Regions from separate parts of the Homo sapiens genome. Here region 2 is linked to region 1. The links are contacts of gene promoters, found by promoter capture Hi-C in human tissues and cell types (Jung and others, 2019). All regions are on one chromosome and are shown on one strand. Each heading gives the region's core, a stretch centred on a gene start or on the middle of the fragment in contact. The rest is flanking DNA. Distances are from core to core; before and after follow the strand shown. Region 1 holds the start of PRL (prolactin). Region 2 overlaps LINC03005 (long intergenic non-protein coding RNA 3005).

Region 1 (5,885 bases), core at 1,966-4,465:
TCAACAATATGTATGAAGTTAATCTAAATAGTAGGATGTAATTAAGTCATTGCATTTTGCTTATTCTAAAAATAGTGCCATTCAAAAAAAACCACTATTGATCTCTTCTCCAATGTGCCCTTTACATTGTCTAATATTTTATATTGAAAACAGCACACGTCCTATTTAATTTTTTAGTCATTAGAAGACGACTATTCAGAATTTTTCAATTCATAGACAATACTCCTTTAATCATTTCATATTTCATTTTATTTAAGACAATTCACTACTAATATAAATTGAAATATCTTTGTGATACATTCATTCTGAGGATTTTTTTAACTCTTAATTTCTTTCACTCTTTAATATCCCTTAGCATATTTTGCAGTAGACACCTCCTAGGTTATGTGAAGAAATTTTTTTTTGTTTTTTTGAGATGGAGTCTCCCTCTGTCACCCAGGCTGGAGTGCAGTGGCGTGAACTTGGCTCACTGCAACCTCTGCCTCCTGGGTTCAAGCGATTCTCCTGCCTCAGCCTCCTGAGTAGCTGGGACTACAGGCGCCTGCCACCACGCCTAGCTAATTTTTGTATTTTTAGTAGATACAGGGTTTCACCATATTGATCAGACTGGTGTCGAACTCCTGATCTCTTGATCCTCCTGCCTCAGCCTCCCAAAGTGCTGGGATTACAGGCGTGAGCCACTGCGCCCGCCCTGTGAAGGATTTTAAATATACTTTGCTTCATACGTGACAGAAGAAAAAACAAAATTATTCCAAACTTAAAAACAGATAAACAAAAGAAAATACAAACTTTGTTCTAAATTAGGAATAAAAACCAACCTGATGTTACTTAATGTTAAAAACTAGCGTTCTTTAGAAAAGATGGCAACCTTGTTTATTAGTTTCAGGTACTAAACATAGCATGGGAACTTTAGCATCATTTGAGCTATTTATTCAGCTACTTGACATAAATCAATCATCACCCCTCAGTTGCATCACAAGCTCTCAGACCAAAAATGGCAAACAAATGAAGTTTTGTAAAGTTTTAAAATGTACAACCCTATTCTTACTGAACTTCTTTATTGTTTTAAATTAAGGGCACAGTTTGATAAAGAGAAAGCCTGGCAAGAAAGCACATATAAAAATTAAGGTGAAAGGGGGTAACATGCATAGCAGTTAGAAGAATTAGGACAACTATGATTTTTGCATAATATATGTCTTTGCATTATTTATATATTTCAATATTCCATTCACAGGAAATGTGGGGCTATGGAGCAGCAAGGAGACACACAATAAATTTTACAGAGAAACCTGTACCTCTTTGCAGTCAAATAAATCGACTGACAGACCCTGAATAAACACAGCTTAGGTTTTCTTAGATTGCTCTTATCCTGGCTATCCAAGAATGTTGCAACACCTTTAAATTTTAAGATTAAGTTGTCATTGTCAGTTCTTATAACAGATTTTCTTACTCTTAAGTTTATGGGAGAGGAGGAGAATATAGGATAATGTTAATTTCTCTGCCACACAGCTCTGCTTTCTTAATAATTCAGACTCTCTCCATCCAGGGAAAAAATGAATACCTAATGTGAGTATATGGAATCCTGACCCAGCTTTCAGATTGAGAGAGTCTATGAATCATCACATTTGATGTTTATGATTCAAAATGTAGGATTGCCTTAAACTAAGGCAATTAGGAAGATAGTTTTTCAGAGACGTTAGTCTTTGTTAAGATTTCTAGGTCCCCATAAGAGCACTTAGTCAGATAATTGCTAAAGCACATATGTGGCTCTAGGAACTAAGGAAAAAGTAAATGCCATAGGAAGACTATTTTTTAAATTACCTCATTCATCAGTCTATTGTAAGAGACAGCAAATTTGAAACTAAAGGTCACAGGCTGCTTTAGATGCATGGACTTAAAAATTAGAGAAAGTCATCAATAAAACTTAGTTCTTATTCATTATAGTCATTTCATTTAGGAAATTTCCAAAAGGTGAATGGAATTTTTAAGCCCATGAAAGATGAATTTTTGTCACCTTGGCCTCAGAGTGGCTCAGGGTCAGAGAAGGTAGAGAGATCATAAGTTAATAACAGTTTACACACTGCTATCCTTGAAAAGAGTGGAAATTACTGGCTAGAATTTCAGTTTATTACATGGTATACCAGAATGATGGGTGTAAGTGTGTCTGTGTGTGTGCACACACATGTGTGTTTGCCCTGGAAAACTACTGCATCACTTCCCCAAAATAAACTCTTAAATCAGGGGTTATAGCTTGTTTGTCTTAGAAGTGGGTCCACAGGATGTTTACAAGAGAATTCATTTCCCAGCCTTCCTCATATGACTCCTGATTTTCCGTGAAGTAATAATTGTTCCTTCATTTAACTCAACTATAGAATTATTAGGCTGGTGCGCAAGTGACTGCAGTTTTTACCATTTAAAAGTAAAGCCCAAAACCTCAATTACTTTTGCACTGAACTACTTCTTTCATATTCTTTACCTTTAGTCTCTCCAAGCTTCTGTTTCTTCATCTGTAAACTGGAGAGAATAATACCACTTAACACATATGTTAAAATCAAAAGAAATAAACAGATGAAGATGTACATTCAAAGTACCATACAGATACGCTATTTTTAAAAAGACAAAACACATGTATTTTTAAAAAGACAAAACAAAATGTGTATTTCAAAAAGATAAAACAAAATGTAAAAAGCAACAAAATGAAGGAAATTTAATGACAGTGTAACAGGGGACTGAAAATCCTGATTTCTCAATCCTTATTCTATATCTCTTGGTATTTAGTGTAAAAATTTTAAAATCTTTACCTAGCAATCTTGAGGAAGAAACTTGATAACTGATAATACATGAGATTGTTACCTAAGTGAAATATAATCCTATATATTCAACAAACTTTAGAGAAATAAGATAAATTTTAAAGTAAATGACTTCTGTAGTTTTATAGATCCTCCAAACCAATCTAGTCTCAGATCTCACCTTCATCATTTCTCTCATTTCCTTTTGGCCTAATTAATCAAAATCCTTCCTAGAATGTTCATTTCTGGCCAGTATGTCTTCCTGAATATGAATAAGAAATAAAATACCATTTGATGTTTGAAATTATGGGGGTAATCTCAATGACGGAAATAGATGACCAGGAAAAGGGAAACGAATGCCTGATTCATTATATTCATGAAGATATCAAAGGTTTATAAAGCCAATATCTGGGAAAGAGAAAACCGTGAGACTTCCAGATCTTCTCTGGTGAAGTGTGTTTCCTGCAACGATCACGAACATGAACATCAAAGGATCGCCATGGAAAGGTATGTGTGACAACTCACTGCGTTGTTGGTTGTATCAACACTCCTGTGGGGGGATTAATGTGAAATTTTAACTAATAACAAGAGCTTGCAGGTTTACAAGGTTTAGAAGCACAATCTTATGTTTCCTCTAGAAAGCAATTTTACAAGGGCACCATAGAACAGAACAATGGTTCTCAAACAGGGGAATCCTCTCTCAGAGGCATTTGGCAATGTCGGGAGATGTTTTGGGTTGTCTTAACTGAGGTGGGGAAGTGAGGGAAAAGTGCTATTGGTATCTAATGGATAGTGATGAGAGATGCTACTGAACATCCTTCAATGCACGGGACAGCCCCCAGAACAAGGAATTATTCAACTCAAAATGCCAATAATATCAAGATTGAGAAACTCTGGACTAGAATAAGACTCAAAGAGTCTGTGGGTCCAATTTGCCACAACTCTCAAAGGGACAAAGTAACATTTTCTGGTTATCAGGCCTCTAATGTGGATTGGCCAACTTGAATCAACCTGATGAAACTTTCAATTGTGAAGCCATAAAATAGACACTAACAACAGAATTGTCTTTCCTATTCTTTGTCAATTTGGTTCAAGCCAAATGACATTTCAAAAGGAAAAACAGACTGCCTAGTAATAACTAATCACCTTTACTTTCTTGGTTGACATTTGCAAGGAAAATAAATTAGTAACAACCATAAAATGTGTTTCTAATTAAATGAAGAACAAAAACATGTGTCTATTTTATCTCGTTTTGGGCTTTAAAAATCCTTTCCATGCTAAATGTGCAGATAAATGTACTCAGAGTTACAGAACATCTATCCAGTTGTGAATTTCCTAGACCTGCTATTCCAATTCCTCTATCTACAAAGCACATTTTATTTACACATACAGATAAAATATACATTTGGTTTCGTCATATGATTATAGTATGCATAAAATAAACTTTTTGGAAGAATCATGTTTTTGAAAAATTAAAAGTCTATAATAGGAATCATCTCAAACAAAAATTTTATTTTACAACTAACAGATTTAGTCACTTCCTACACTAAGCAATTTTTTAGGTATTTTTAAGTGTTTAGGTTTAGGTACTTTTTCACAAACTAAACTTTAGCATTTGCCTAGTTTTATCTTGGGCATTTCTGATTGCATTTCTTAAAGGTTTTGAAGGACTTAAGTTTTGTGATAAACACAGTTTTATATTGGGCATTCTTTTGGGGTAATGCCACTGAAGTTAACAAGTGATTTTAATTTGGTAGCTATCTATCGTTTCTTTCCTTTTGAAAGTATAAATTATTGATATATATAGGACTGTAACTGTCCATTTGCTGAGATAGCAAATTGATGACAAAGCTTTGAAAACCTTCAGCAAAGATCAGAGTGTTTTGTAATTAGAGCAGGAAAAGTGGAGAAAATCAAGCTTTCTGGGGCCTCTGTTGTGATGTAATCAATCAAAGGCAAAGAACTTGTTATTCTTTAAAAGTGACAGCAACAACCTATGTAAACACTGAGCCATCACGGCTACTCATGCGGCCCCCATTACACAGATGCAGATTGACAGCCCACAGGTGTACGCGATGTGACAAGACGACGTGCAAAGACCACAGTATTGGCATCATGCCTCTCTCACCCACTAATGATACGACTTGGGGAAAATCACTTAACCTCCCTAAGCCATCTGTTTCATCAGTATAATTTGATGATAATTACAAAGGCCCAGTGTATCTCACAAGGTTATTATGAAGCTCAAATATAAAAAAAATTTAATGTTTTTGGCGAAGTGTCAAACACATGCATGGGACTATTACGAGTTAGCAGATCTAAACTACAGCATTATTTTTATGTTAGAATTCTTTTCAAACTCAGTATTAGCAATCAAACAATCGTGTGTTTATTCTTATCAGGCAGGATGATAAATCGAAAGGATCGACTGTACTGTTTTTGTTATATCAGTGTCTACAATGTAAATTATCAGACACACCTAGTTAAAAAAAAAATTACAAAGTGCTGGGCAGCCTGACTGCTGAAAATCTGCAGAAACTCCCAAGACATTAAACTATCTTAAGAGAATGATCCAAACACCCTAGCTCAGAATTAATTTAAGCTCCAAATGTTTGGAAAGTACAGAAGCACTTCTGGGAAACGTACAAAAATGCAGGAGGTAACCCACTTCTCAAACTATATATCTGTGCAAACATAATTATATATCTACATTTACACAGTGGAAGGCGTTTGTTCTTCCCCCATCCCAGCCATTACAGTAGCAAATCAGGCAGCTGAGGGCAGTGGGGAGCAATAAGGCTTTCCTCGGCAGGATTACTTCTGAAAACCTCCGTGGAATAAATCATCTCAGAGTGGCTCGCGTTCTTATTTAAGCAGGGTCCCTCCTGCTGCTGCTGGTGTCAAACCTGCTCCTGTGCCAGAGCGTGGCCCCCTTGCCCATCTGTCCCGGCGGGGCTGCCCGATGCCAGGTGACCCTTCGAGACCTGTTTGACCGCGCCGTCGTCCTGTCCCACTACATCCATAACCTCTCCTCAGAAATGTTCAGCGAATTCGTAAGTACCATGCTTCTGGCTTCCTCCCTGAAGGAGCCTTCAC
Region 2 (5,885 bases), core at 2,300-4,799, 400 kb before region 1:
TTTCTTTGTAGCAATGCAATAATGGCCTAGTACAATAACTACTCAGAGATTATGAGTAATGATGCTTGTGATAACATCTGGAAATTATTTTGGTATCCTGGACCCCCTAATCTCAGTCTAAAGACAGGAACACATTTAAAAAAAACAGATGTTATTTAAGTATCTCTCTCTTTGGATCTCCTTGGATCCAATTTCCTCTTTACCATGTTTGTTATACCCATTTTTAATCTGAGGATCATTCTCTTGAAGAAAGAAGAAAAACCACTGTAATCTTCGCTTGCTCAGTGTCATTTTCAAATATTATATACAGCCTGCCTTTCACCTACCTTCTCTTTGTTCTAAATGTACATTAGAAAGTGCTTTAGTTATCCTTAACATTTTTGTGCATTCCTTGGCTTTCTCCCTCATGACATTATTCATCATGCTCTGTGCCATGTCTCCTTTCCCATCCTTGTTCATGGACCCCTTCTGTACATGTCATCCCATTCCCAAAGAACCTCTTCATTCAACTGGACTAAGATTACAATTTGGGGGATTTTCTCTAGGCTTAAAATCAACAAAATAACCCAGATCTCTTCACTTTCATTGTTGTAAAGATGGATTCTCAACATCCTCCCACAAGCACTTTAAGTCGTTATATCCAGGATGAAGCAATTTTCTTTTTCTCCTTCACTACTTAACCTCTTGTAACTCTTATCCTGGTTAATGCTATTTCCATCTAACTAGTTACCCCAGGCAGGAACCAGAAGGGATCTTTGACTGATTTTCCCTCCTAGGCTTTATATCCAATCACTCAGCAAATCCTTCCATTGCTCTCAAATCCATCTCTCCCCCTCCATCCTCACTGCCCCTGACTCAGTTTAGGTCAGTACCATTCTTTTTTCCTGGAGGATTGCAATCATCTCCTTGGTAAGGTGCTCAATGCCAGGTAAGTTTCTCTATAAACTCCCCTCTACATTGTCAGTATAATATAACCTTCCTAACACACATACTGCATATGATGCCTATACTGTTCAAAAACTATACATGGTTTCTTATCAAACACAATATAAAAATGAATGAACTATCAATCCTTGCTTCTGCTCAGCCTTCCAACCTCTAGGCTCCTCATACTACTGTCCTGTACCCTGTACTTTTATCTTTTCCTTGAATCCCCATCCACCGGACATCTTTGCAGAAATTTTATCATTCTTCAAAATTTCAGTAAATTCTCTGGTTTTCTTTTAAATTGTTTATGATTCACAAAGTTAAATTTGGCACTTCTTCCTTTACCAGTGGACCATGTAGATGCTTCTATTATTACTACTCATTAAACTGTATGACAGGTATTTGTTTGCATGTCCATTTCCTGGGATAGGCTATGAAATCATGGAAGGTAGGACATAGCTTGATCATATCTGAATCCACTCCTGATACACATGTGCCAGGGTGGCAGGTAGAATAATGCACATTCCCCTACCTCCAAAAATTTCCATATCCTAATCCCCACAGCAAGTGAATATGTTGCACCACATGGCACATGGGAATTGCAGATAGAATGAAGGTTGCTAATCACCTGATTTTTAAGAATAGGGAGATTATCTCAAATTATCTAGGGGAGACAATGTAATCACTATGCTCCTTAGACGTGAAAGAGAGAGGCAGAAGAGAAGGTCAGAGTCCCTCAGAGGAACTCAACAGGCTCTTGCTGTCTTGGAAGACAGAGGAAGGGGCCACAAGCCCAGGAATACAGGTGGGTCCTAGAAGGTGGAAAAAGCAAGGGCCCGAATTATCCTCTACGGCCTCTAGAAAGGACTGAAGCCCTGCCGACACCTTGAGTTTTGCCAGTGAGATCTGTGTTGAATTTCTGACCTCCAAAGTGGTGTCTGAGATAAGAAATGTGTGTTGTTTGAAGCTACTAAGTTTGTAGTAATGTGTTACAGCAGCTGTGGGAAAGAAACTACAACATAAATTTCATGAGTAAGTTGGTAAATTGGTTTCAAGTGGATTTTTCGCCTAATTCAGGTAATTTTCAGGCAAGCATCTACTGATAAAGTATGTATTTAGTATAATGGGGCAAAAGTATTTTAGGGGGCTAAAGTCCTATTAGCATATTGAATACACACACATGACTTATTTAGTTAAATAAGGAAAATCAGATATTTTTCAAGCAGGTAGATTTCACATTCACTTTATGTCCTTTTATGAATGTTGTTGCTTTTTTTTCATTCCCTTAGGATTTTTTTTTTAGAATTAAAAAGAAAATTATATTCTGTTGAGTTCACTGTAAGAAAAAATCCTTGATATTGAAGTGCATTTCTGGGAGAAATATTATTTGCATTTCCCAAGTATGCTGAGAATTCTTGGCTCCTTTTACCCAGATTTTCAGTGTGGCTGACTTCTGAACCCCATTATCCCAGTCGGGGGCACTTATTTTCAGAGGAGCGTTAGGTGGGTACCACACTTCCGAAGTTTCTAGGGAGAAAAGTATTTGTTTTCCTTGAGGCTAAAGACTCAATTTGTTACTTAGTTTTTCACTAACTTCATGAATCTAAGACCTAGGGTGGAGAACAGAAAAAGTGATTCCATTCAGTGAAATAGACAAATACACCAGAATAAGAAATAGTGTTAAAATGTTGGATGTGATCCCCAAAGCAAGCAATGCTGTCATTATCATAATAGTCTACCTCTCTCACATTGCTGTGAAGTATAAAACACAGCAAAGTACCTACCTTTAATTAGCCATATTTAGTATTTTTTATGGCCACTGAACATGGTACTCATATTACCATATATTAGCGTATAATTTGCATATATACCTTAAGGTATTTGGTTTTATTGCTGTTACCTTTTGTGGCCCTATTTCAGTAATGACTCTAATGGAATACAACGATATTTCTGACTCAATACACTTTACAAGCTTGGGAGTTTTACAATGGAAAGTTCTGTTTAAATATAAAATTCTTCCAAAAAATGTCTGTGCATTCTGAATATGGTCAATGGGCATAGGTACTTATCTGGCAAATCTCTAATAGGTGCCCAAGTAAAAGTATTTACCTTCATTCTGAGCTCAATAAAGATATATTTTATAAGTAAAGCTTGAGGTACACATTGTTTCATGTTTGCTTAAAAGAAAGTCACACACACAATTTAAGGAATCTTACCAGTCTATCAGCAGCTAAAGGTCCCAAGAAAGAAAAATAACAGCTGCAGCTAGAGAATTTGGAGAAAGGTCAGAGGTCAGTGCCTGCATCTGCATTCACTGGGAGACAGAGAGGAAAAATAAAGGGGCTCTCTTTGTGGCAAGTCAGCACTATTTTAGAAAGTGCAGATACTGACTTAATTACCAATGTTCCCTTTTGCTCTGGGGTGCTGCGGCAGGCTATAAATCAATACCTAAGGTCACATTGCTAAAAGCATGAAAAAACTCACTCTTTCTCGCACTTGGGAGCATTGTTTTCTGCTTCCTTCTCAGTGTTACTAGCGTTCGATATCAGATGGAAACAGAGGGCCGCAGTCATTACAGAGGGAATCAGAACTATGAAAGCAGATGCGCAAAGCAGGCCTTCTGAACTCCAGACAACTCTTTAACTGTGTCCAGTCTCCCGTCATTACTTGATTGTTTGTTGTTGATTAGTTTATTTGTAATCCTTACACCCTATTCTTAAGCCTAATTCAATAAATAAATGTTACCATGAATTCTGTGCTAATTTGAAACTAAAGTAAACCTTCTTTTTTTTTTTGTAATTCAAAAATAATTTCAATGTAATGTGTTTGGGACTGCTTATATATTTTTATTCATTTCTCTGTCCACATGCTATGAAATTTCCTACATCTGATTTTATAAAGGAAGGAAATGTTGCAAAAACAGTTGCTAGTCCTTTTATTGGCAACTGTCTTTGTAAACCTAGAGAGACTATAATATCTGAATAAGGTAAGATACCAAATGAGAAAATAGTCATTGCTAGGTAAAACATTCTTAAAATAGCTTACCTTGATGATCTGAAGAGTCAGAAAGGATTTCTGATGTGTATGCATCAAAGCAATCTATTTGAGATGCCACTGAGGTTTGGTTCACAGGGCACTTTGACAACATCTGCATGGGATAGCCACATCAGAATGTGGACCATTCCAATAATTGATGCTGGAATCCGATCCATCATGGATCAGATCAACCATGCATCAGGGTAATTTGGTTGTTGAGACAAATGAAATAACTACATTGATTTTGCCGGGGGAAAAATGGACCACATAATAGATGTAACATCTTTAAGTATTGAAGCTTTAGGGCTTGGTCTACACATTTAGTGTATCTATAATAGTTTACTTTTCTATGTGTATTATATGCTTTTAAATAGTTTTTGGAACTGAAAAAGGTAAAAATTATGCATATATAAAAATAATGTCAATAATTCCTGCAGAACATCCCTACTTCTCTATGTTTTTCTTCACAGTTAAAAAAAAACTGATATTTTTTCAGAGCTCTTTAACTTGGTCCAACATCCTATGTTTCTTGTACTATCTAGGCTGATACATATGAAAGGTACTTTCTTCCAAAGATCTCCAATGTAAAGATTTTACAATATGTATAAATGTCACTTGATAATTATTTTACTGAATCATATATTGTCAAGCAGTAATATCCCTTAACAGTCATCTGGTTTTGTGAAAAAAAGACAGAGGACATCACATTTTGCTGCAAAGGCTCAGCAGAAGAGAGTACTACAATTTAGTAACTAATTTGTTTGGAGGGAAAATTTCTAATAATTAAGAGGCACTACTTCCTTAGGGTGGCAAGTGTTTATTTATCTAATTATCACTGCAAAGTGTTCCACTGATAATATAAAATCTGCTACCTTTCCCAGAGTCGACAAAAGGAGATTTAACTTAAAATGAAATAATAACATATAGTAGCAACCAATATTTTCCCAGACTTCATCAGGAAAATGTGAAGTTGAAAGAAGAAATTCATTTGCTATTCTCCAATGAAAATGGGAAATAGACAGAAAATGCTGTTCGTTCTGTTGCCACAATGAGTTCTCCAGAATGAACACACATATTATTATAACTGCCCTGATTATAAAACACAAGTCATAATTGAAGGTAGTGTCTACCCTAAATACTGAGGGCAATCTGCCCTGGCATCTAGCTCCCCATTCTGCCTTTAGGGAACCATTGAGCATATGCACATTCCATCAGCCAGAGTCTGCCAGCATCTAATGCCTCTCTAGGGCTTCACCATTACCCGAATTTGAATGCTGAGAAGATGCTCATAATTGCTTATTATGACATTAGACAAGAGAATTCAAGTCCCATTTGATTGTAATGAGTTTGTGGAGTCTCTGCTTTCTGTGGTCCAATCACATACAGAAGTGAATGTGAGGCAAGTTTGATGAAACAGAATTATGCTTGAAGAGGTGAGCATGAGGCTCGGACCTTTTTCACTTAAATTTTTTTTTCTTATAACTTTCAGCATTCTGTTGATGGAAATAAAAGTAATATCAATTATAAAATCTTTCAGCAGGAAAACTCAAAATTCTTTCCAAACTAAATTATTTTCCCAGGTTACCACTGAAATAATTCAGACTTACTGTCTCCACATTGCAGATAAGCACATTAAATGGTAAAGAAATAAAATTTTTTATTTAAAAAGATGTACACGGTGAGTGGCAGAATCAGTTAGTATTGCATGCAGCATAAAACTTAATAAAAAGGAAAAAATGTGTACATCTTACACAGATACGTGCATTGAAGCTACCTACATAGAATTAGGTGAAACATCTCTGTGATTATTTGAGTATGAGAAGTGTTTAAGAAATTACCTCTATCTTATTTTTACAAGCTAGAAAGTCAAAGAAAGCCTGTTAAGATAACATGTGGCACGGCTATGAGGAAAGGGGCAAAAA

What was found. The method cuts DNA at HindIII sites, captures the fragments that hold promoters and counts their contacts. A contact is called where the count stands out against the background at its distance.
Region 2: a fragment that was not itself captured here is called in contact with the fragment with the promoter of PRL in region 1 in 2 of the 25 tissues and cell types used here (heart left ventricle and stomach).

Annotation. Positions count from the first base shown.
Region 1 is chr6:22,294,366-22,300,250 of GRCh38, reverse strand. PRL (prolactin) reads left to right here and starts at 3,215. Exons shown (of 5, transcript NM_000948.6): 1 at 3,215-3,296; 2 at 5,667-5,842. The coding sequence starts at 3,269. The HindIII fragment of the contact is 8,347 bases long and covers 461-5,885 here.
Region 2 is chr6:22,696,814-22,702,698 of GRCh38, reverse strand. The region is part of intron 1 of LINC03005 (long intergenic non-protein coding RNA 3005); the gene reads left to right. Among named protein-coding and RNA genes, the nearest start is that of LINC03005, 18 kb to the left of the region's middle. The HindIII fragment of the contact is 4,306 bases long and covers 1,397-5,702 here.